7 separate regions of the Homo sapiens genome follow, and all the other regions are linked to region 4. Evidence: promoter capture Hi-C in 16 types of primary human blood cells and fetal thymus (Javierre and others, 2016). All regions are on one chromosome and are shown on one strand. The core of a region is centred on a gene start or on the middle of the fragment in contact, and the rest is flanking DNA. Distances in the headings are between cores, read along the strand shown. Region 1 has its middle 8.1 kb from the start of MSANTD5. Region 2 has its middle 10 kb from the start of MSANTD5. Region 3 holds the start of LOC124901149 (a long non-coding RNA gene). Region 4 holds the start of GRM6 (glutamate metabotropic receptor 6). Region 5 has its middle 65 kb from the start of RUFY1. Region 6 has its middle 92 kb from the start of RUFY1. Region 7 has its middle 52 kb from the start of ADAMTS2.

The links. The method cuts DNA at HindIII sites, captures the fragments that hold promoters and counts their contacts. A CHiCAGO score of 5 or more calls a contact.
Region 1: a fragment that was not itself captured here is called in contact with the fragment with the promoter of GRM6 in region 4 in 4 of 17 cell types (megakaryocytes, erythroblasts, endothelial precursors and 1 more); the score reaches 6.3 in megakaryocytes.
Region 2: a fragment that was not itself captured here is called in contact with the fragment with the promoter of GRM6 in region 4 in 7 of 17 cell types (erythroblasts, megakaryocytes, total CD8 T cells and 4 more); the score reaches 8.2 in erythroblasts.
Region 3: a contact is called between a fragment that was not itself captured here and the fragment with the promoter of GRM6 in region 4, in 1 of 17 cell types (endothelial precursors). The highest score is 5.9, in endothelial precursors.
Region 5: a fragment that was not itself captured here is called in contact with the fragment with the promoter of GRM6 in region 4 in 1 of 17 cell types (endothelial precursors); the score reaches 5.5 in endothelial precursors.
Region 6: a contact is called between a fragment that was not itself captured here and the fragment with the promoter of GRM6 in region 4, in 1 of 17 cell types (endothelial precursors). The highest score is 7.9, in endothelial precursors.
Region 7: a fragment that was not itself captured here is called in contact with the fragment with the promoter of GRM6 in region 4 in 1 of 17 cell types (endothelial precursors); the score reaches 5.1 in endothelial precursors.

Annotation. Positions count from the first base shown.
Region 1 is chr5:178,688,048-178,691,195 of GRCh38, forward strand. No RefSeq gene overlaps it. Among named protein-coding and RNA genes, the nearest start is that of MSANTD5, 8.1 kb to the right of the region's middle. The HindIII fragment of the contact is 976 bases long and covers 828-1,803 here.
Region 2 is chr5:178,706,586-178,709,500 of GRCh38, forward strand. It overlaps a transcript of MSANTD5 not described here. Among named protein-coding and RNA genes, the nearest start is that of MSANTD5, 10 kb to the left of the region's middle. The HindIII fragment of the contact is 777 bases long and covers 1,270-2,046 here.
Region 3 is chr5:179,371,820-179,374,775 of GRCh38, forward strand. LOC124901149 (a long non-coding RNA gene) reads left to right here and starts at 1,612. Exons shown (of 3, transcript XR_007059083.1): 1 at 1,612-2,100. The HindIII fragment of the contact is 3,219 bases long and covers 92-2,956 here.
Region 4 is chr5:178,993,740-178,996,632 of GRCh38, forward strand. GRM6 (glutamate metabotropic receptor 6) reads right to left here and starts at 1,581. Exons shown (of 11, transcript NM_000843.4): 1 at 1,537-1,581; 2 at 702-1,221. The coding sequence starts at 1,205. The HindIII fragment of the contact is 9,329 bases long and covers 1-2,893 here.
Region 5 is chr5:179,483,931-179,486,861 of GRCh38, forward strand. No RefSeq gene overlaps it. Among named protein-coding and RNA genes, the nearest start is that of RUFY1, 65 kb to the right of the region's middle. The HindIII fragment of the contact is 5,936 bases long and covers 1-2,931 here.
Region 6 is chr5:179,456,856-179,460,190 of GRCh38, forward strand. No RefSeq gene overlaps it. Among named protein-coding and RNA genes, the nearest start is that of RUFY1, 92 kb to the right of the region's middle. The HindIII fragment of the contact is 7,244 bases long and covers 1-3,335 here.
Region 7 is chr5:179,396,241-179,399,457 of GRCh38, forward strand. No RefSeq gene overlaps it. Among named protein-coding and RNA genes, the nearest start is that of ADAMTS2, 52 kb to the left of the region's middle. The HindIII fragment of the contact is 9,996 bases long and covers 1-3,217 here.

The sequences.
Region 1 (3,148 bases), core at 66-2,565, 310 kb before region 4:
AATGATTACCCTGGCCAGCCCTGGTGGCTCACACCTGTAATCCCGGCACTTTGGGAGGCCACAGCGGGAGGATTACTTGAGGCCAGGAGTTTGAGATCAGCCTGGGCAACACAGCGAAACCCCATCTCTCCAAAAAAATACAAAAAATTAGCCAGGTGTGGTGGCATGTGCCTTTAATCCCAGCTACTACTCAGGAAGCTGAGATGGGAGAATTGCTTGAACCTGGGAGGCAGAAGTTGCAGTTAGCTGAGATGGTGCCACTGCACTCCAGCGTGGGTGACAAAATGAGACTCTAAGTAAATAAATAATAAAATAAAGTTATTACCATGATAAAGTTAATTAGCATGCTGCATTAGTCTGTTTCGCATGGCTGTAAAGGAATACCTGAGGATGGGTAATTTATACAGAAAACAGGTTATTTGGCCCACAGTTCTGCAGCCTGCACTAACACGGCACCAGTAACTGCTGGGAGTCCGGGGAGGCCTCAGGAAGGCTTTACTGTTGGTGGAAGGCAAAAAGGGAGCAGGCATGTCACATGGCAAGAGAGGAGGCAAGAGAGAGATGCCAGGCCCTTTTAAACAATCAGATCTCTTGGTAACTAATAGAGTAAGAACTCACTCATGACCTCAAGGACAGCACCAAGCCATTAATGAGGGATCCACGCCCATGACCCAAACACCTACTAGCCCTTACCTTCAACACTGGGGATTGCATTTCACATTATGAGATTTGGAGGCAAATATCCAAACCACAGCACTTACCCAATACTTCCCACACTTACCCCCTCCCTTTTTCGGTGAGAACACTTCAGATCTACTCTCTTAGCAAGCTTCAGTATAAAATATAGTATTATTAACTATGCTCACCGTGCTGTACATTAGATCTTTAGAATTCCTTCATCTTATAACTGAAAGTTTGTACACTTTGATCAAGATCTCTCCATTTCCTCCCCCACCTCCCTTCCCGGCAACCACCAGGTTGCTCTGCTCTCTGCTTCTATGAGTTGGAAATGTTTCTTCTTTTTAGATTCCATATATAAGTGATACCATACAGTATTTGTCTGTCTCTGTCACACTTCACTGAGTATAGTGCCCTCTAGGTTCATTTATGTTGTTGATAGGCAGGACTTCTTTTTTAAAGTGGCTGAATAATATTCCGCTGTGTGTGTATGTGTGTCAAGTTTTCTTTTTATCCATTCACCTGTCAGTGGACACTTAGATTGTTTCCGTATCTTTGCTACTGTGAATAGTGCTGCAATGAACGTGAGATGCAGATCTCTCTTCCAGATCCTGGATACATACCCAGAAGTGGCACTGTTGAATTATGTGGTAGTTCTATTTTTAATTTTTTTGAGTAAACTCCATACTGTTTTCCAGTGAAATAAGACAGTCAAAGAGGTTTTTCCATATCTTGGTACCAGGAGCTTTAACTCAGGTCCAACTCACCGTGGGCCCAGCGGGTCCCGGAACCCATTCTCTGGTCATTTCCCGGGTCCAGATGTGTAGTTGGAACAGACGTGTTCAGCAGCTAGCAGAGTTTCCACACGGGTTCCCTGAGCTATAAAGTGAGGGCAATTGTGATGGGAAAGGACAAATGGAAGGCGTTACAGCCATCTCTACCTAGAAAAATACTAAAACAAAAAACACACCAATACTGCCTTCCTGGAGGAATGATATAGATGAGTGCCATCATCAAAGACTTGAAGTATGGAGGGGTGGTGATTCCTACCCCACATCCTTGTCCAACTCTCCTGGCCTGTGCAGAAGACAGATGAATCCTGGAGAATGATGGTGGATTCCCAGAAGCTTAACCAAGTGATAACTCTAATTGCAGTTGCTGTACCAGATGCTGTTTCATTGCTTGAGCAAATTAACACATATCCTGGTACATGGTATGTAACTATTGATCTGACACACACCTTTTTCTCCATCCCTGTCCAGAAGGCCCACCTGAAGCAGTTTGCCTTCAGCTGGCCAGGGACACCTTCACTGTCCTCCCTCAGTTTAGATCAACTCTCCAGCCCCATGTCACAGTGTGAACCCAGGAGGCAGAGCTTGCAGTGAGCCGAGATCGCGCCACTGCACTCCAGCCTGGGTGACAGAGCGAGACTGCGTCTCAAAAAAAGGTATCGATTTTAAAACTTGATTTTTTATATATGTATATATTGTGCAATGAGCACCATAGTCAAGTCAGTTAACATATTTATCGCCTCACATAGTTAACCTTTGTGTGTGTGTGTAAGATGAGAACACTTAAGATCTACCCTCTAAACAAATTTCAGGTATAAAATACAATAGTGTTAACTATAGTCACCATGCTGTACATTCCATCTCCAGAACTTACTCATCTTGAGTAACCGGAAATTTACACTCATGACCAGCATCCCCCCATCCCCCCACTTCTCCCTCCCTCCAGCCCTGGAAACCACCATTCTACTCTCTTCTATGAGTCTGACTATTTTAGATTCCACATATAAGTGAGAGCATGCAGTATTTATCTTCCTGTGGCTAGCTTATTTCACTTGCAAATGGACTTTATGAAGCTAGTATTATCCTGATACCAAAACCAGAAAAAGACAGTACAACAAAACTGTAAAACAGCATCTTTCTTGAATACTGATGCAGAAATCATTAATAAAACATTACTAATACATCAATAATAGATGAAAAAATTATATGATGGACAATTGATGTACTCCAGAGATATGAGGCTGGTTCAATGTTTGAAAAATCAATCAAAGAACAAAGTAGGAAGAATTAATTTATATGATTTAATAACTTATACAGCTATAGTAAACAAGGGTGTGTGATATTAGCAGAGTGCAGACCAATGGAACAAGGTAGAGAACCCATGACAAGAACCACACAAATATGCCCACCTAATTTGTCACAAAAATGCAAAAGAAATTCAACGCAGAAAAGATAGCCTCTTCAGAGAAGAGCAACTGGACATTCACAGGCACATACACACAAAATGAACCTTAACCTAAACTTCACAAACCTTAATCACAATTTAACTCAAATGTACCAGGGACTTAAATGCAAAATGTAAAACTATAAAACTTTAAGAAAAATATAGGAAAAAGTCAGCCGGGCACAGTGGCTCAAGCCTGTAATCCCAGCACTTTGGGAGGCCGAGGCAGGTGGAT
Region 2 (2,915 bases), core at 408-2,907, 290 kb before region 4:
TGGAATCCTCAAAGTGTTGAGCCATGTTGACAGTTTCCTCTCCCTTAGGTGAGACAGGAAGGATAGAGAGAATGGGGAATGTCCTTCCTCCAGCTAGCATAAGACTCTGGCAAGCTTTTTTTCCCTAGAGTGTCGGCTTTTATGGAGAAGACTCTGGGTGTATTTCACAATGATTCCCCTTCTTCTGCCACAGCCCTCAGGGGATATTTCTCAGATCATGACCTTGGGAATCTGCTGGGATTCCTGGAGCTAATGGCAGTGGCGGTATGCGGGACCCGTTATGACTATGGACCCAGAAGTTCCACATTCTCAGTTTAGTCCATATTCAACCTCCAGCAATTCATCAAAATTACCTGTTAGTTTTCCGACCAGTTTTGGCTCCAGTGGGCTCCAAGTAAACAGATCTCAGCTGTGTCTCTGGATACACCCGTCTCTCCAGATTTCACAGTTGTGACTTCAGTTCTCAGAAAGATAAAAGTCACTGCTTTTCAGCTTGACTAGCTTTTTCTTATAAGGATAGGGGTGACTACTTCCAAGCCGTTTGCATGTTGTAGTTGAAACTGGGGGTTCCAACAAATTTCTGAGTGCTAGAGAATGAAAGAGAGAATTGAAGAATGAAGAATAGAAGAATATCGAATGACAACAGAATCACAAAAGTCCTTTAACTGCTCAGTTTAAACAGTTTAAATGCCGAGGAAGGGAACAATTTCATGATGACTTCAGTGTCAATAGGATGGCTATCAGAGGTTGTCTGTGTAGCATCATGCAGAAACGCAGAATATGGATAGGACACCTTCTACAGCCTACTTCAGGCTTTGCTTTAATTTTGAATAACAATTGTTTGCACTTCTGGCGGGGCGCGGTGGCTCACTCCTGTAATCCCAGCACTTTGGGAGGCTGAGGCGGGTGGATCATGAGGTCAGGAGTTCGAGACCAGTCTGGCCAACATGGTGAAACCCCATCTCCACTAAAAATACAAAAAAAAAAAAAAAAAAAAAAAAAAAATTAGCCGGGCATGGTGGCAGGTGCCTGTAATCCCAGCTACTTGGGTGGCTGAGGCATGAAAATCGCTTGAACCCGGGAGGCGGAGGTTGCAGTGAGCCGAGATCTTACCATTACACTCCAGGCCAGGCGACAATGCGAGACCCCGTCTCAAAAAAAAAAAAAAAAATTGTTTGCACTTCTACACATCTACATAAATTTGTATTTGTATTATATCAACCAAAGGAATACAATTTGACTTATTAACTCAATTTAGTTTCTGCAAAAAGCTTCAATTTCCCAGGTCTCATCTAGAAGGGATAAGATAGCTTTATAAGCACAGGTTTTCAAAAGAAAAACATTGCAGAGGCAAAAAAAAAAAAAAAAAAAAAAAAAAAAAAATTCTCATTGTGATTATTTGCATCTGGGGTTATACTGTAAAAAGAGACATTTTAGATCTTTTATATAGTCTCTAATAGTAAACAGAAAGATTACATTTTTATTACTGCAGATTTTATCCTGGCACTTGAAAATTCGTTTGCAATTTTGGAAGCAGGAAATACTTTTGGTGTGTTTCCATTGGTCATTTGAGCTGAAAAGATTGAGTGTGGAAAGTCATTACAATTTCTGCTATGGTTGTTTTATTTTTATCTGAATTTCCTTTCATCGGAAAATTTGTTACTTTATCCGTTTCTTTAGCACTATTTGAGGAAATCATCTATCACTTAGGCTTAGCTGTTAGTATATCCTGCCTTATATCTGACTTTCCAATATGTTCAATACTGAATGAACAATTGTGTACTGTAGAAAGAGCTTCAAAACATCTTTTCTCTGATACCAAATATTTTAAAAATTAATCATGAAACTTATACTTGCATTTTGATTCAAATATACATAAATGAAAATAGGCAATAGGGTAGATCTCATATTAAGTATCCTTAACACAAAATATAAAATAAAAAATAAGTTAATAACAATAATTGAAAATACTAATTTCGATCATCTCACTCACAAGAGTGAAGCATAATTACCAATAAATTGAGGCTGAGCTATTGAAAGGTTGGAAGCTTACAAACTAACAATAAACTTGAACTTGATATGTGACACAGAAAAGTCGAACTTGATGCATGCCTGCAAGGGAGAACTGTGTTTGCAGTAACAGGATCCCTGAAGAAAGCCAGAGCTGATCTTATCCAAAATTTTAAGCAGCTCAGTGTCTGGGACTGGCGAATTTTCAGAGGCAGGGATGTTTATGGACTGTTAGATTTTCAAGCGTGTTAGTGTGGTCACTGGAATTAGACGGTTGTCGACTGGCTAACTTCCAGAAGCACGGTCACTGGAAGGAGGGACTTGCTGACCAACCGTGGTCTAGAAGCAGCACTCAAGTGGCATTCAGAAGCTGGAGGCTGTCAGGAAGTTGATTTCAGAAGCATGGCTGCTGGCAGCGAGGCCATCATTGATTTTTCAGACCACGTGTACTGATCCAAAGATCTAATTATTGGGGATTATTTTACAACTTAGGAATTTGGCCAAAAGAACAGTCTTTTCCTTTCTTTAATACGGAAAACAAGTACTTTTATTCTCACTTCCCCCTTTTGCCTTCCCTCAGTCAAACACATAGGATAAAACATAAGAGATGGTTCAGATCTTTATTTGTGGAGGTATGATTTCCAACTTGTATTGCCACTTAAGCGATTTAAGCGCCAATTACTGAAGCAGAACCGTAGCTCAAAGTGCTGATTTTTCATTAATGAGGGGAGAAACCCTGAATACATTTAAGGCATCCTAACAAAGTTAATACAGGATTCAGGACAAAATCATTAAATACAGGACGTTTGGCAACCCTACCTGTGAGTCAGCTTTCTCCTCACTTGCCACTCTCACCTATTTGCCTATGAAAACCATGCCTTATTTATTCTAATACATGATTATCT
Region 3 (2,956 bases), core at 451-2,950, 380 kb after region 4:
AGGCCTGCCCAGACACAGGAGCCGCAGGGCCACACAGATGGCACAGCCCTTTGGTAAAAATCAATGCCATTGCCAGTGAGCAGCTGGGCCAAGCTTCCCAGAGTGCTACGGTATCCCAGCAACAACACGCACATCCCCTTGTCTGCAAGCTCCTGAGAAGATACTGCTCCCAGACACCACAGCCCAGCTAGTCCCAGCTTGACTCAGGAGCCACTGAACCTGCAGCCTCCACCCAGGCTGGTATGGGCTGGGCAGGCCTCCTGGGCCAGAGACAGACCCCTGTGGGGGAGGCTGAGAATGGGATCCAGGTTAAAGACCCCACCCACCACCACAGGCCCCCAGGTCTGCTGCCCTCCTAGTTAATCCTCTTAGATCAGGGAAAACTGCAGGGAGCCTGTCTGCCATGTGAGCAGTTATGATTTGACAGGAGTCTGTAAGCAGATGCATGTGCAGGATCCTTCATGGAGATGCCAAGTAGTTGAACCAGGAAAGCATCATCCTCATTCACCTAGATCAGCTACAGAAGTGGGCACTGAACCCAGACCTGGGCAAGAGCCCAGTGTATCCGCTCCCTGTGTCATCAGCTTGTGTGGTCAGGGTGCCCAATTCCAGAGCCAGGGATCCTGGCGGGCTGTGAGAACTTCCTTGAGCCCCTTGCCAGTGTGGGGCTGCCAGCCCTGGGCCCCGGGGAAGGGGAGCAGGAGGCCGGAGCCCAGCTCCAGACTCCCGGAGACCGCACAGCTCCAGCCCTTCCCGAGGCTCTGGGCTCACGTATGTTCAGGTCCCCTATTTCAGTTTCCTTGGCCTTGTTTGCTCCGTTGCTAGTGCTCTTTACTCCCCGACTTTTAACTTTTCAGAAATCTTTGTAGCTCCTTTCCTGTTTTATCTCGCCCATTGATTGAGGAAGCTGTTGGCTCATTTCATCTGGCATATTTTTCTTGTTTTACATTTACGGTGTGTTGTTTTGTTTCCATCACATTGTATTTTGAAGAGTCTTCTCTTTCTATTTGGCCTTGTCTGTGGGTGGCAGCGTTTTTGGAGGAAGGGCCCAGGTTTTGGAGCTGGGCAGACCCTGACTCAGCTATAGCTCTGCCAGGCTGGTAATTTTTTGGCCTCTTACAGTCACTTTAAGTCTCTGAGCCTCAGTTTCCTCCTATTAAAAATAGGAATAGTCATACCTGTGGGAAGGTTCAGGCCTATTCGGTATTGTTCATTTAAAGCGCCTGGCACAGGGCCTGTCCATTATGGGGGCACCGTCATTGCTAGCACATGTCAACGCCGGCACCAGGAGCGTGGGCTTCTGCTGTGTCCCAAATTGTGAGACCAGTGGTCTTCTTTGTCTTCCCGTCCCACACCTGAACAGCTGTGAGGAGGGTCTCGACCACATGCCAGGAACCTCAGTGCTCCCCCTCGATAAGGGACAGAGCTGTCCACACCACCCCTCGCCCTCTTTGGGACGCTGCGCACTCTCGCAGTGGTAGGGCGGAGAGCTGTCAATCAAATGCAGTGCCTCACCTCCTGCGGCAGGATTGGACGTTCGGCCCAAGCCGGACCAATCAGCATCCTTCCCCAGTGCTTTCCGACTGGACCTAAGGCTTGAGGCACATTTCCTCTTGGAGGAGCGGCTCTGAAGCGAGGGTCTGCCACTGTCGGGAGCCTAGAGGGGAAGAAGCTGGCCTGGGCCAGGCCCCAGAAGTGGACGAGAGAGGGTCTGGACATGCTGCGCCTACTGCCGGGGCCCCTTGGACGCAGCAACAGTTTGGTTCTAAGAGCCCGTCAGCTGGTCTGAGCCAGCTTCTGACAGTTGCAGCCAAGAATCCTAATTCAAACGCCCACGGCTCTGCCAGGCCGCCAAGATGGGTTCCCATAACCTGAGCTCCCTCTCCAATTCAGACAGACTCTGGAGGGCTCCCCAGGGAACACATGATTGAGCCCACTTACCAAGCCGGCAGGCTTCTCTCTCCAGGAAGGCACCAAATTTTCATGGACCAGCTCACAAGCTGGAGCCTGGGGTGGCTCCACACCCCAAGCAGGCAGGCTCCTTCACACAGGAGGACACCCTGGCAAGGGGTGCCTGAGAGCAGGGCCCCACAGGCCTGGGTGAGTAGGACATCTAGGTGGCTCACGAGGACGCTGCATATTCTGAGTCTCAATCCCTAGGAAGGAGACCAGGGTGTGTTCTGGGAGCTGGGAACAGGGCAGGGCTGTGGGTGTTGGGGTACGAGGTCTGCACCCAGCCAATCAGCGTCGGGGTCCAGGGTGTGTGCCCTGTCCCACTGCAAGAGAGGGGCCGAGGCAGGGAGCCAGGACACAGGGTACAGAAGGCATGCAGTCAGATGGATGAGGCCAGCAGGGACAAAGGGAGACACACCAGGCCCAGGGCTGCGGCAGGCCCATCAAGGGACTCTCTGCCCCCTCAGAAGTGCCCTCACGCTGTTCGGCAGCCAGGCATAGGTGGAGAGTCATGGTCCAGTCAGGCGGCCCCGACTTCAGGTCAGAGGGCACGGAGGACGTCCGGGCAGAGGACTTGGAGGACGTCAGGGCAGAGGACTTGGAGGACGTCAGGGCAGAGAGCACAGAGTACGTCAGGGCAGAGAGCAAGGAGGACGTCAGGGCAGAGGACTCAGAGGGCGTTGGGGCAGAGGGCACAGAGGACGTCGGTGCAGAGGACTCAGAGGACGTCAGGGCAGAGGGCACGGAGGACGTTGGGGCAGAGGACTTGGAGGACGTCAGGGCAGAAGGCACAGAGGACGTCGGGACAGAGGGCACGGAGGACGTCGGGGCAGAGGACTCAGAGGACATCAGGGCAGAGAGCTCAGAGGACATCGGGGCAGAGAGCACAGAGGACGTCGGGGCAGAGGGCACGGAGGACGTCGGGGCAGAGGACTCAGAGGACATTGGGGCAGAGAGCACGCAGGACGTCAGGGCAGAGGACTCAGAGGACGTCGGGGCAGAG
Region 4 (2,893 bases), core at 331-2,830:
GCCCCTAGGACTGCAAGGAACACGCTGCCCCTCACGGGACAGTTCCCTACATTTGAGGACAGAGCAGGGCCAGCCCGGGCACCTGCGCAGGGCAGGGTGCAGGAGACCAGAGCTCAGAAGGGAACGCCCCGCCCTGCTCTCAGATGCCCCTTGAGGGAGAGTTCAAGGCATTTTGAAAATAAATTTAAATGATCAAAAAAGAGAAAGACCAGACCTTTCAGGCCTATCCATCCCCCATAGCAGCCCAGGGACACGCCCCAGTTGCTGCTCTGGAAGAAGGGCCCGGGTTCCAAACAAAACTCAAAGTTGCAATATCACTCGAGCGCTCCGCAGGCCCAGGGGGCAGGAGCACCTTGTATGGTTGCAGGGGTGTGCCCAGAACAAGGGCACCCGAGCAGGCTGGCAAATGGGGGCTGAAGTCAGGCCGCCCTCCCCAGCCAACCGGCCAGAGGCGTAGGTGGCACCCGCCCGGGAAGGGGCGCCCTCGCGGGGCGGGGTAGACATGGGCGGCTGGAGTGTTTGGGTGGAGCCGATTCAGGCCTGCGTCGGGCTCAACTGACAGGGCTTCTTTGACGCTGTGTGAATTCGAGTGATTAAAACGGAGACTCTTTCAGAAGAAGTAAAGGAAGGAGACTTGGGCCACCCCAGGGCGAGGACGGGAGAGGGACGCTGGACACCGAGCCCGGCCCCGCGGCCCTCACCGCAAACAGGCGCAGCACGTTGGCGACCATGATGGAGACGGAGCTGGCCGAGGCGCCCACGACGGCCACGACGCGCTCGGGGGGCGCGGGGCGCAGCGGAGGGACGCCTCCCGGGCAGCGCACGCCCACCTCGTCGCCGTCGCCGCGGCCGCGGATCAGCGCCTGCACGAAGCTCAGCGCCTGCTCCAGCGCGTAGGTGTCCCGCGAGCAGGTGTCCAGCAGCCGCGCGCCCAGGCGCACGCCGGGCAGCAGCTCGGGGTCGGCGTTGACGCGGTCCAGCGCGTACAGCATGGCCTCCAGCCGGTGCACGCCCTGCTCCTTCTTCAGCTGCCCGCACGCCCGGCCCGCCGCGCCCCGCGCGTGCACCGGGAACAGGCCGCCCAGCGTCAGGCCGCCCGCCAGGCGCACAGAGCCCGCCGCGCGCGCCAGGCCCGCCTGCGCCAGCCACGCCAGCGGCAGCAGCGCCACGAGCAGCGGCTCCCGGGCTCTCCGGGGCCGCGCCATCGGCTCGTCTAGCGGGCTGCGGGGAGACAGAGGGGCGGGGAGCGCTCTGAGGGCGGGGGAAGGAGAGCGCGGGCTCGGGGCGCGGGGAGGGACACCGGGGTCCTGGGGAGAAGGCGCTCGGGGCGCGCCTTCCACTTCGGCTCTGGGGAGTTAGCTCAGCCGGCCTGCCCGGGCCTCCGTCTCGCTCTTACAAGCGCCGAACCCTGTCGCCCGGGGTCCCGCCCGACCACTGCCTCCACCCCTCCAGCCCTGCCGCTTCCCGACAGCTTGGCCCCTCTTCCTCGGGGTCCATCCCCAGCGCACACCCAGGCTCCCGCCCCAAGCCAGTCACCTGCGCCAGCCGCTGTCGGTTCAGGACAAGTCTGTGACAGATGCGGCCGAGGCCCTGAGCGAGAGAGGATTTAAGGATTCTAGGGAGGGATGAGAGACCGCTCCGAGGGTGGAGACCCCTCCTGAGTGTGGGGGGTGGCGGTGCTGGCTCTCCCCGCATCTCCTTCCCCTCCCTCTCCCAATCTCTGGGTCTGTTTTCCTGTTTTCTTGTCTTTGGTTTGCGTCTGACTCAGACTGTCTGGCTGTCTCTGGGGCTGTGTCTGACACAATCTCTGTCCATCTCTATCTCAGTCTTCTTCTGCCTCTAGGTCTCTGTTTCTCAGTCTCTGTCCCTGGCTTTCTGCCTCTGTCCTCTTCTTGGAAATCTTTTCTGTCTCTGTCCCTTCCTGTCTCTCCCTGCGGTTATCTCTCTCTGTCCCTGACCCCTTTTCTGTCTCTCTGTCTCTGTCCTGGCCACCAGTGCTCCTGACTGCAGTTGCCTAAGGTATTCCCCAGCTTTCTCCTTGCAGAACCCTGCAGGGGGCAGGGGCTGCCTGAGCTGGGAGGGCCTAAGGAAGAGGAGGAAGAGCGAGGGGCAGGAAGGGGCCAGGAGGGAGAAGCCTTTAGTATTAGCGAACTTACAACACCCTGCAGTCGAGAAACAGCCCTCGAGGAGTGAGTTGAGTTGCCCAAGTGCATGCAGCTGGCATGTGTGGGCATCAGGATTCACACCCAGAATGGCATGAAACAAACAGCCCACACTGCCTTGGATGGAGGGAGGGGAGGGGCCGGCTTTCCTCGCAGCTCCCACTCCCGCCTATTGCTTGGGAGGATGGAACCCCGCGGGGTCGTTCTGGCTCCGTATAAAGTCTCCTCGGGCTCTGGGTCTGAGGCAGCCACTCGAGCTGCGGTGCTCACTGTGCCAACGCTCTCTGCACCTAACTCCCCATCTCATCGTGGAGGCCAAGGTGAGGGGGCTTGGCCAAAAGATGCTTTTATCATCCCCCCATCCGAGGCCCAGGATTTGGCTCTCTGATGCCAAGAGAGCAAAGGGCGTCCTGGAGACAGGTGGTGAGCTCCTAGCCACAGGGATTAGCAGGCTCCTCGTCCGAGGGCCTGAGCCGGCTTGGGCTCCATTAGACAGGCTGGATTAGGGTGGCTGCGGGGATTTGGACAAGGCTGGTAGAGGGAGCAAGCAAGAAACATGCCACCTTTCTCTCTTCCCCCGCCTCTCCCAGGCCCCGATAGTTTCTACTGCCAGAACCACTTCTCCTGGTGGAAGCCCAGAGTCAACAGGCTGGGCCTAGCCCTGCTCCTATCCATTTTAACAGTGGGAAGGGTGGGGAGCTTGGCTGGTGCCAGGCCCTGAGCCTGACATT
Region 5 (2,931 bases), core at 304-2,803, 490 kb after region 4:
TTATAATTATAAGTTGCCTTATTTGGTCTATCCCACTGGAAAGTCCTTAGTTATATAATGAGAAGTTTTTTGGCTGATTCTGACTAGTTGAGCTTAAGTTCTGTTTCTCTTTAACATAGACATTTATAAGAAATAGCTCAAGTTAAGTTTCACTTATGTTTGCAAATCAAACAAGGTGAAGGTCGCATATAGGCCTAACTGGCTTTGTCTGCTCAAGGATTCTTCAGACCTGGTCTTCATTTTAATTGATTCTAACAAACTCAACACTAGCCTAGGTGTTCTGTAAGGCATTTTGTAGATGCAAATCACGTCTGCAGTCAGCCAATTTTAAGAAAAGGAGATTATCCTTGGTAACCTGGGTCAGCCTCATCCAATAGGATGAAAGGCCTTGAGCAGAACTGAGGCTTCCCTGAGGAAGGAGAAACCCTGTCTGGACTGCAGCGTCGGCGCCTGCCAGAGAGTTCCCGCCTGCCCTTCCAGTGCCCTGGCCTACGGATTCCTGACTTGCCCTGACAGCCCCACCTTTGGGGAAGCCAGTTCCTTGCAATGCATCTCTCTCTCTCTGTATATATGGATATACATACTGCTTCTGTTTCTGTGGTAGAGCCCTGACCAATACACTACCTAATAAAATCAATTAAATTCAAACTCATCATTCTCTTTCCCACTATCCTACACCAACACACCCCCCGAGGCGCCCTCCCAGTCCTCATCCTGGTGAATGGCATGGTCTTCCTTGCTGCTGCCCAGGCCAGAAGCTGCGGAGTCTGGCCAGGCTCCTCCCTCTCTCTCCTCCTATACCCAGGCATTGGGCCAGCCCAGGGGTTTTGAGAATTCGCACCCACCCTCCACTCACACCTCCACTGTTTGCCCTCTGGCTTTCCACTGCAGACGTCTCACTAGATTCTCTGTCTCCATGACAGTCTCATCTCCCCTGCCCCAGCCACCAGCCAGGGTGGTCTCTGAGAATCCCATCTGTCCTGTTTAAAGGCCTCTTCTGTGGGCAACATGGAGTCCACACCCCCATGCCGGCCGGCCCTCTCATTCCAGCCGCTGCCCCAGGACCAGGGCATTGGGCCTCCATCTACCTACTGGCTGGCCGCTTGCTTTCCTGAATGCCCAGCAAACCCCAGCCACTGGGGACATGGGCTAGGTCTCTCAGTTCCTACTTTGGAACCTAAAACCTAGTAAGTACTTCAAAACTGTTTTCCTGCAGTGCGATTGAATGGACTTACCCCTCCCTCTCCGTCTCCTCTAACTGCTCATAATACAGAACCCAAGAAATGTACTTAATTAGTTTGGGGGTTACCAACAGGAATTTCACTGTCTTTGTTCATGATTTAATGGTAGGTGATTAGCGCAAAAAAGATGTTGCCCCTTAAGAAAACGAAATCTGCTTTTGTCTCGTGTGTGGTCTTCAAGTGAGTTTTATTTATTTTTATTTTTTTTATTTTTTTGAGATGGAGTCTCGCTCTGTCACTCAGGCTGGAGTGCAGTGGCGTGATCACCGCTCACTGCAAGCCCCACCTCCCAGGTTCACGCCATTCTCCTGCCTCTGCCTCCCGAGTAGCTGGGACTACAGGCGCCCGCCACCACGCCCAGCTAATTTTTTGTATTTTTAGTAGAGACGGGGTTTCACCCTGTTAGCCAGGCTGGTCTTGATCTCCTGACCTCGTGATCCGCCCGCCTCAGCCTCCCACAGTGCTGGGATTACAGGCGTGAGACCCCGCGCCCGGCCCAGTGAGTTTTATTTTTTGTTTCCCGGTGGTGCTTGATACTAAAATATGTTTCACTCCGCTGTTGATCCTTCAACAAGTCTAGAAGAACAGGTGGCCCCAGGGCCATTTCTTTAGGGTCCTAAGCAGATAGGAAGAGCTTTGCTCTGTCTCGTGTTCCAGCGGACCCAACATTCATGTCTCTATTGGATGGAAACTGCTGGAACATCTTCATTTCTGGAGACAGAGCCTGAGTCCTTGGCCCCAGGCCTTTCTCTCCATCCCTGTCAAGCAATTCTTTTAAGTGTTAGCTCCTCGCATAAAGCCTGTGGTCTGCCAGAACCCACCCTGAGGGCCGAGCCCCATGCCTGGCTTGCCCAGTACCCCAGGCTGGGAGCTCAGCAGCCACAGCCTACAACTTGGAGCAGGAAGCACTTGCTGAAAAGGCTCAACGTGAACTTGGACCTGACTTTGACTTCTTCTCTGTTTGAGAGCTTTTGTTTCCCCCACTAGATTCTGGATTCCTAATAACCCTGTGATGAGTCCTCCCTGGAGCGAAGACAGTGAGTAAGCCAGCAGTTGTGTGCTGCAGGAGGCAACTCTGACCCACACAGTTTTCTTGAGTTCATGAATCAAAGATGCCAGACCCTGAGCCCCAAGGGCCGGGTGCCAATGGCCCTGTGAAGGTCATCCTGTGGCCCTTGCAGGCGGAGCCTGTCTTTCCTCTGTGCAAAGCGTGCTCTTGCTGCCCACCGTGGGAAGCTGGGCCCCTGAGTTCCAGCCTCCCTTGCAGAGATGTGCGCTTTCCCGGTACTTTTCCGCCCTGGCATTCTGCATGACTGCCAGGCAATCGCTCGGAGATAAAGTGTACCCTTTATAAGCCCAGAACTTTAAGTTTCTCTCACACAGAGATCAGACTCCTAAAGGGAGTAACTGAAGACATTCTGAAAGCTCCAGGAACAGAGGAGCAGAAGGAGGCCGCCTGCCTCCTGCCAACAGCCAGTCAGGTGAGCTGCGAGCCACCTGGCTGTGTCCCCGGCTGCCCTCCGGGGCCCACTGCCATGGAAACCGCACACAGCATCGCTGCTTGAGGAGCCAGACGAACACAGCTGGCAGGGCCACTGGGTGGGCAGAAGGCAGCTGAGCAGAGCCTCGGGAAGCTGGGCTTCTCTTCTCAGCCCTGCCGCCCCCTCTTCACCGTGTCTGGAACAAGGTA
Region 6 (3,335 bases), core at 606-3,105, 460 kb after region 4:
ACTTGGGAGGCTGAGGCAGGAGAATCACTTGAACCAGGGAGTCGGAGGTTGCAGTGAGCCAAGATTGTGCCACTGGACTCCATCCTGGTAACAGAGCAAAAATAAACAAATATAATATAATATAATAATAAAATTATACTAAATGATGTGAAAGTTTTGGTTAAATAATATATTTTGTTTTTTAATACAATGTCAACACGAATTTTAAAAATATTATACCAGTTTTAGTACTGTTCTCCCAAAATTCAGGTCCTTCCTGTAACTTCAGAGTGTGGCTTTATTAGGAAACAGGGTCATTGCACATGTAATTTAAGATGTGGTCTTAGTACAGCAGGATGTGTCCTTAATCTGACACAACTGGTGTCCTCATAAGACAAGGACAAGAAACAGAGAAACACCAGGGAAGATGCTGTGTGAAGGTGGAGACACAGATTGGAGTGATGTGTCTGCAGGTCAGAAAACACCAAGGGTTGCCGGCAAAATCAGAAGCCAAGAGAAAGGCATGGACCAGATTCACCCCTAGGACCTTCAGAAAGACCATGGGCTTCCAGTACCTTCACGTTGGACTCCAGCCTCCAGAACTGTGAGAAAATACATTCTTACTGTCTTCAGACGCGCAGTTTGCGGTCATTTGTTACGGCAGTCTTAGCACACTAATAAGGATCTCAGTTCTTCCCATGTTGGCTACAAGGTTAATTCGATCCTGATCAAAGTCCTAAAAAGGTTTGTTTGGGTTTGAGGTTTTGTGCTTTGACTTGTTGTTCAGTTGGTTGGTTGGTTTTTTGTTTGGTTTAAGATAGTGTTTTCTATTTTTTTCCTCTTGTTTTTGCTTTTTTGGAAGGGTAAGAGACTTAAATGTCAACGTATCAGAATGAAAACAGAGTTAGATCCAGGAAATTTCTGAAAAAGAGAAGTAACAGAGCAGGACCAGCACTCCCTTCCAGGGAGTGGCCCCGCTGCTGAGAGGGAGGGCCCGGGACAGAAGACGGAGTTCCAAAATAGGCTAAGTATAAACGGGGATTTAGTACACAACGGGGGAGGAATGTCAAATCAGTGGGCAAACATAGATCTTTCTTTTTTTTTTTTTTTTTTTTGAGATGGAGTCTCACCCAGGCTGGAGTGCAGTGGCACGATATTGGCTCACTGCAAGCTCCGCCTCCCGGGTTCACGCCATTCTCCTGCCTCAGCCTCCCGAGTAGCTGGGACTACAGGCGCTCGCCACCATGTCTGGCTACTTTTTTTGTATTTTTAGTAGAGGCGGGGTTTCACCATGTTAGCCAGGATGGTGTCAATCTCCTGACCTGGTGATCCGCCCACCTCGGCTTCCCAAAGTGCTGGGATTACAAGCGTGAGCCACTGCGCCTGGCCAAACATAGATCTTTCAATAAAGAGCATTGAGAAGACTACAAAGTTGATTGGTTAATGATTTATTATTATTACTATTATTATTATTTGAGGTGGAGTTTTGCTCTTGTCGCCCAGACTGGAGTGCAGTGGCACAATCTAGGATCACTGCAACCTCCACCTCCTGGGTTCAAGCAATTCTCCTGCCTCACCCTCCCAAGTAGCTGGGATTACAGGTGCGTGCCACCACGCCTGACTAATTGTTGTATTTTTAGTGGAGATGGAGTTTCACCATGTTGGCCAGGCTGTGCTCGATCTCTCGACCTCAGGTGATCCATCTGCCTTGGCCTCCCAAAGTGCTGGGATTACAGGCGTGAGCCACAGTGCCTGGCCTATTATTATTATTAATGCCAGGTCACAGCTATACTCCTTTCACTCAAAGTCCTGATGGATCAAATTTTTAAAACTAAATGATTCAGACCAGGCATGGTGGCTCACGCCTGTAATCCCAGCACTTTGGGAGGCCAAGGCAGGCAGATCACAAGGTCAGGAGATCGAGACCATCCTGGTTAACACAGTGAAACCCTGTCTCTACTAAAAATACAAAAAAATTAGCCGGGTGTGGTGGCGGGTGCCTGTAGTCCCCTCTACTTGGGAGGCTGAGGCAGGAGAATGGTGTGAACCCAGGAGGTGGAGCTTGCAGTGAGCCGAGATCACGCCACTGCACTCCAGCCTGGGTGACAGAGCAAGACTCCGTCTCAAAAAAAAAAAAAAAAAAAAAGCTAAATGATTCAGAGATGTCCAATTCATGATGAGGGACCATATTTGTATCATATCCTTCACTCCCCAAATAGCTAAGAAATGGCCAGATAATACATCACTTTCGAGGGAATAAGTTCCCCCAGCTGCATGGGGATATGAGAATCATGCTCTTGGTGAGCCATATATTTTGAGGATTTCTGGAAAACAGCAAATTATATCAAACTTATAAGAGAAACCAGAGCAGAGGAAGTTTCATGTTAGAGGGAGGATTCATTTTTCCCACCAAATCTCCTTGGTGCCTCTTGCAAAGGGGTTCTCGACATCCCAACATACCTGAGTCCCAGGGCGTGTGCCGCTCATTCTCGGAGATGAAACCCAATACTCTAATAAGGAGAAAAATGACTAATGGAATAACCTTTCTGTTCATCCCCCTTTTGCAAAAATCATCCTCCTCTTGCGAAGATTTGGGGAAAATGAATCAAATGGAAATTCCTCAAATTCAAAGGCTTTTTATTGGTGTAGACCAACATCCCTTGTATAATACAATACATAAACCTGTGTAAAACACACTGACTTACACTCTCCGCACCCCCAGGACCACTTGCCATGTTTGCTCGTGGTTTGTTCAAACAAAGAAAATAAACCCCCGGGGATGCGCCCACTACTCGGACACTCCACAGAGGGGAGAAACCTGGTCCACTGGGTTTCAGGCAAAGCCCAAGTTTCCTTCCCCTTCTCCTCCCCCTACGAAAATTCCTTTCCAACAGTCCTCAGGCTTTTTGTAAGCTGTCCTCCAAAGCCCTTCCCCAGCGAGGACTATGGGGCTGAAATGTAATCATTGTGCTGAAGCATTGCTGAGTTTTACCGAGTCCTGCTGGTGCCCCAGCCGCTGAGTGTGTCCTTGGAGCTGGTTCTAGAAGTTGTGATGGATTTTCACTTATCACTTCCCCGGCCCCTCTTGGGCAGCCTGCAGAAACAGAGACTGCCCCGTGGCGCCGCACAGAACACCTTGTCCTTGGCTGCACAGTGGGAGAGCATGCTGTATATTCTTGAGAAACAGGGAATCTGTGTGCAAGCCGGGACCTCCTCCTCCTTTCCCCAACAGCGTCAGGAGGCAGCCCCCATGGGCAGCGAACCAGGGAATAAACACTGTGGATTACCAATGGGGAAGGAGCCTGGACCAGGCAACCCAAATACATGCACCCCTTGCTATTGTTAAAGCACCGTTG
Region 7 (3,217 bases), core at 701-3,200, 400 kb after region 4:
ATAGATGGTATTAGGATTTAGCAGTACCTGTCTCAGTGGAAAGACATTTTCAAAGATGAAATGCATAAAATATCATTACTGGCAGCACTTGCAACAGATTTTGATGATGGGAAACATAACTTTCATCCCAGTTAAGTGAAAATGTTATCCCTCCTCCAAAATTCCATTTTCCTCATTAGAGAAAAATTTACTGAATTATTGTTTTGAATTCTGTCAATTAAAAAAGTGAAACTACAAAACCTCTAGAAGAAAACTTAGGTGGAAATCTTCATGGCTTTGGGATAACTAAAGATTTCTTAAGATACAAAAAAGTACTCTGCCACCATAAAATTTTTTAAACTGATATTGATTTCTAAAAATTAAAAACTTAGGATTTCCAAAAGTCATCATTAATAAAATAATATGAAAGGAAAGATAGTTGCGATACATATATCTGAGAAAGGTCTTGCATCCAGAATACACACAAAACTTTCACAACTCAACAGTAAGAAGACAAACAACTCAATTTTTTTTAATGGGCAAAATATTTGAACCGACATTCCATGAAAAAAGATACATGAATGGCCAATAAGGACATGAAAAGATGTTCAACATGTTCATCAGTGAAATTCAAGTGAAAACAATGAAGAATTATCACCACATACCGACCAGGATGGCTAAAATTTAAAAGACTGAAAATACCAAATATTGGAGAGGATATACAGCAATTGATACTGTCATACAATGCGTGGAGTGGAAAATGGTGCAAACATTTCAAGAAACAGTTTGACAATTTCTTAAGAAATTGAACACACCCCCTCTATGAGCCAGCAATCTACCCCTAGGTATTTAACCAAGGAAAATGAAAGCATGTGTTCATAAAGATACATGCACAAGAATTTTCATATGAGCTTTATTCATAATAGCCAAAAACTGGAAATAATACAAATGTCTGTCATCATTTAAACAGATAAATTGTGGCATTTTTATACAGAGGAATAATTATAAGCAATAAAAAAATGTGGCATGCAACCCAGATGACAGACATTATGTTGAGTGACAGAAGCCAGGCACAAAGAGTACTCTAGGGTCCATTTCCATGACGTTCTGAGTCAGGGGGCACTGAGCTGGAGTGGTCGATGTCCCAGGAATCAGTTCTGCTGCCAGGGAGGAGAATAGACTGGGAAGTGGCACAGGTAGCTTCCTGGATGAGGGAGGTTTCTTTATCTTGATTGAGGTGGTGGTTACATAAGTGTGTATGTTTATAGTGTATATATATATATATATATATATATATATATATATATATATATATATATATATATATATGGTTTGGCTATGTCCCCACCCAAATTTCAACTTGAATTGTATCTCCCAGAATTCCCACGTATTGTACGAGGGACCCAGGGGGAGGTATGTGAATCATGGGGGCTGGTCTTTCCTGTGCTATTCTTGTGATAGTGAATAAGCCTCATGAGATCTGTTGGGTTTATCAAGGGTTTCTGCTTTTTGCTTCTTCCTCATTTTCTCTTGCCACCACGATGTAAGAAGTGCCTTTCACCTCCCCCCATGATTCTGAGGCCTCCCCAGCCATGTAGAACTATAAGTCCAATTAAACAACTTTTACTTCCCAGTCTCAGGTATGTCTTTATCAGCAGCATGAAAACAGACTAATTATATATATATATATATATGTGTGTGTGTGTGTGTGTGTGTGTGTGTGTGTATACATATATAATAACTCACTGAACTGTGCACTTAAAAATCAATGCATTTTATTACATGTAAACTATATCCTAATATACTTGATTTTTAAAAACATCATAGGCCAGGTGCAGTGGCTTACGCCTGTAATCCCAGCACTTTGGGAGGCCGAGGTGGGCGGATCACAAGGTCAGGAGATAGATACCATCCTGGCTAACATGGTGAAACCCTGTCTGTACTAAAAATACAAAAAAAAAAAAAAAAAACCTAGCCAGGCATGGTGGCGGGTGCCTGTAGTCCCAGCAACTCGGGAGGCTAAGGCAGGAGAATGGCTTGAACCTGGGAGGTGGAGCTTGCAGTGAGCCAAGATGGTGCCACTGCACTCCAGCCTGGGCAACACAGTGAGACTCTGTCTCAAAAAAAAAAAAAAGGCCAGGAGTGGTGGCTCATGCCTGTAATCCCAGCACTTTGGGAGGCCGAGGCAGGCAGATCACAAGGTCAGGAGATTGAGACCATCCTGGTTAACACAGTGAAACCCCGTTTCTACTAAAAACTTAGCCAGGCATGGTGGCGGGCACCTGTAGTCCCGGCTACTCAAGAGGCTGAGGCAGGAGAATGGCGTGAACCAGGAAGCAGAGCTTGCAGTGAGCCGAGATCACACCACTGCACTCCAGCCTGGGGGACAGAGCGAGACTCTGTCTCAAAAAAAAAAAAAAAAAAAAATCATATAGGCCAAATAAAGCATGTTTGTTGACTGAATGTGACTCACACACTACCAGTTTGCAAACTGAGCTAGAGAATCAAATGGGGTGAAGGTCAGTCCCCCAATCCTTCTGACCATGTACATGTGGGCCAGTTGCATTATGTGCTCTTAGGACAGACACTTTCATTTTTAAGGTTCTTTATTGGGGTGCAGGGATAAAGAAAAAAAGAAAGAGAAAGACAGAGAGAGGGAATGACAGAAGGAAGGAAGAAGGGAAGGGAAGGGAATGGAGGGAGACACCAATTACCATCTGCTCCAACTCCTTATTTGGTCCAAATGAAGGTGACTGGTGTGGCCTGCCACAGATGCAATAGGGTGACCCCCCCTCAGCCTCAGGCTTGGTACCTCAGGCTCCCAGGCTTGTGAGTCAAGCATCATCTGAACAAACAAGGCATGCTCCATGCAGCTCCATCTTATGCTGCTGTAGTGACAGAAATGGGGCCTGATATGGTTTGGCTGTGTCCCCACCCAAATCTCATCTTGAATTATAGTTCCCATAATCCCCACGTGTTGTGGGAGGGACATGGTCACAGGTAATTGAATCATGGGGGTGGTTTTCCCTGTGCCGTTCTCATGATAGTGAGTGAGTTCTCATGATATCTGATGATTTTATAAGCATCTGATATTTCCCCTGCTGGCACTTCTCTCTCCTGCCACCATGTAAAGAAGGACCTGTTTGCCTCCCTTTATACCATGATTGTAAGTTTCCAGAGGCCTCCCCAGCCATGCAGAACTGTGAGTCAATTAAACCTCTTTCCTTTATAAATTACC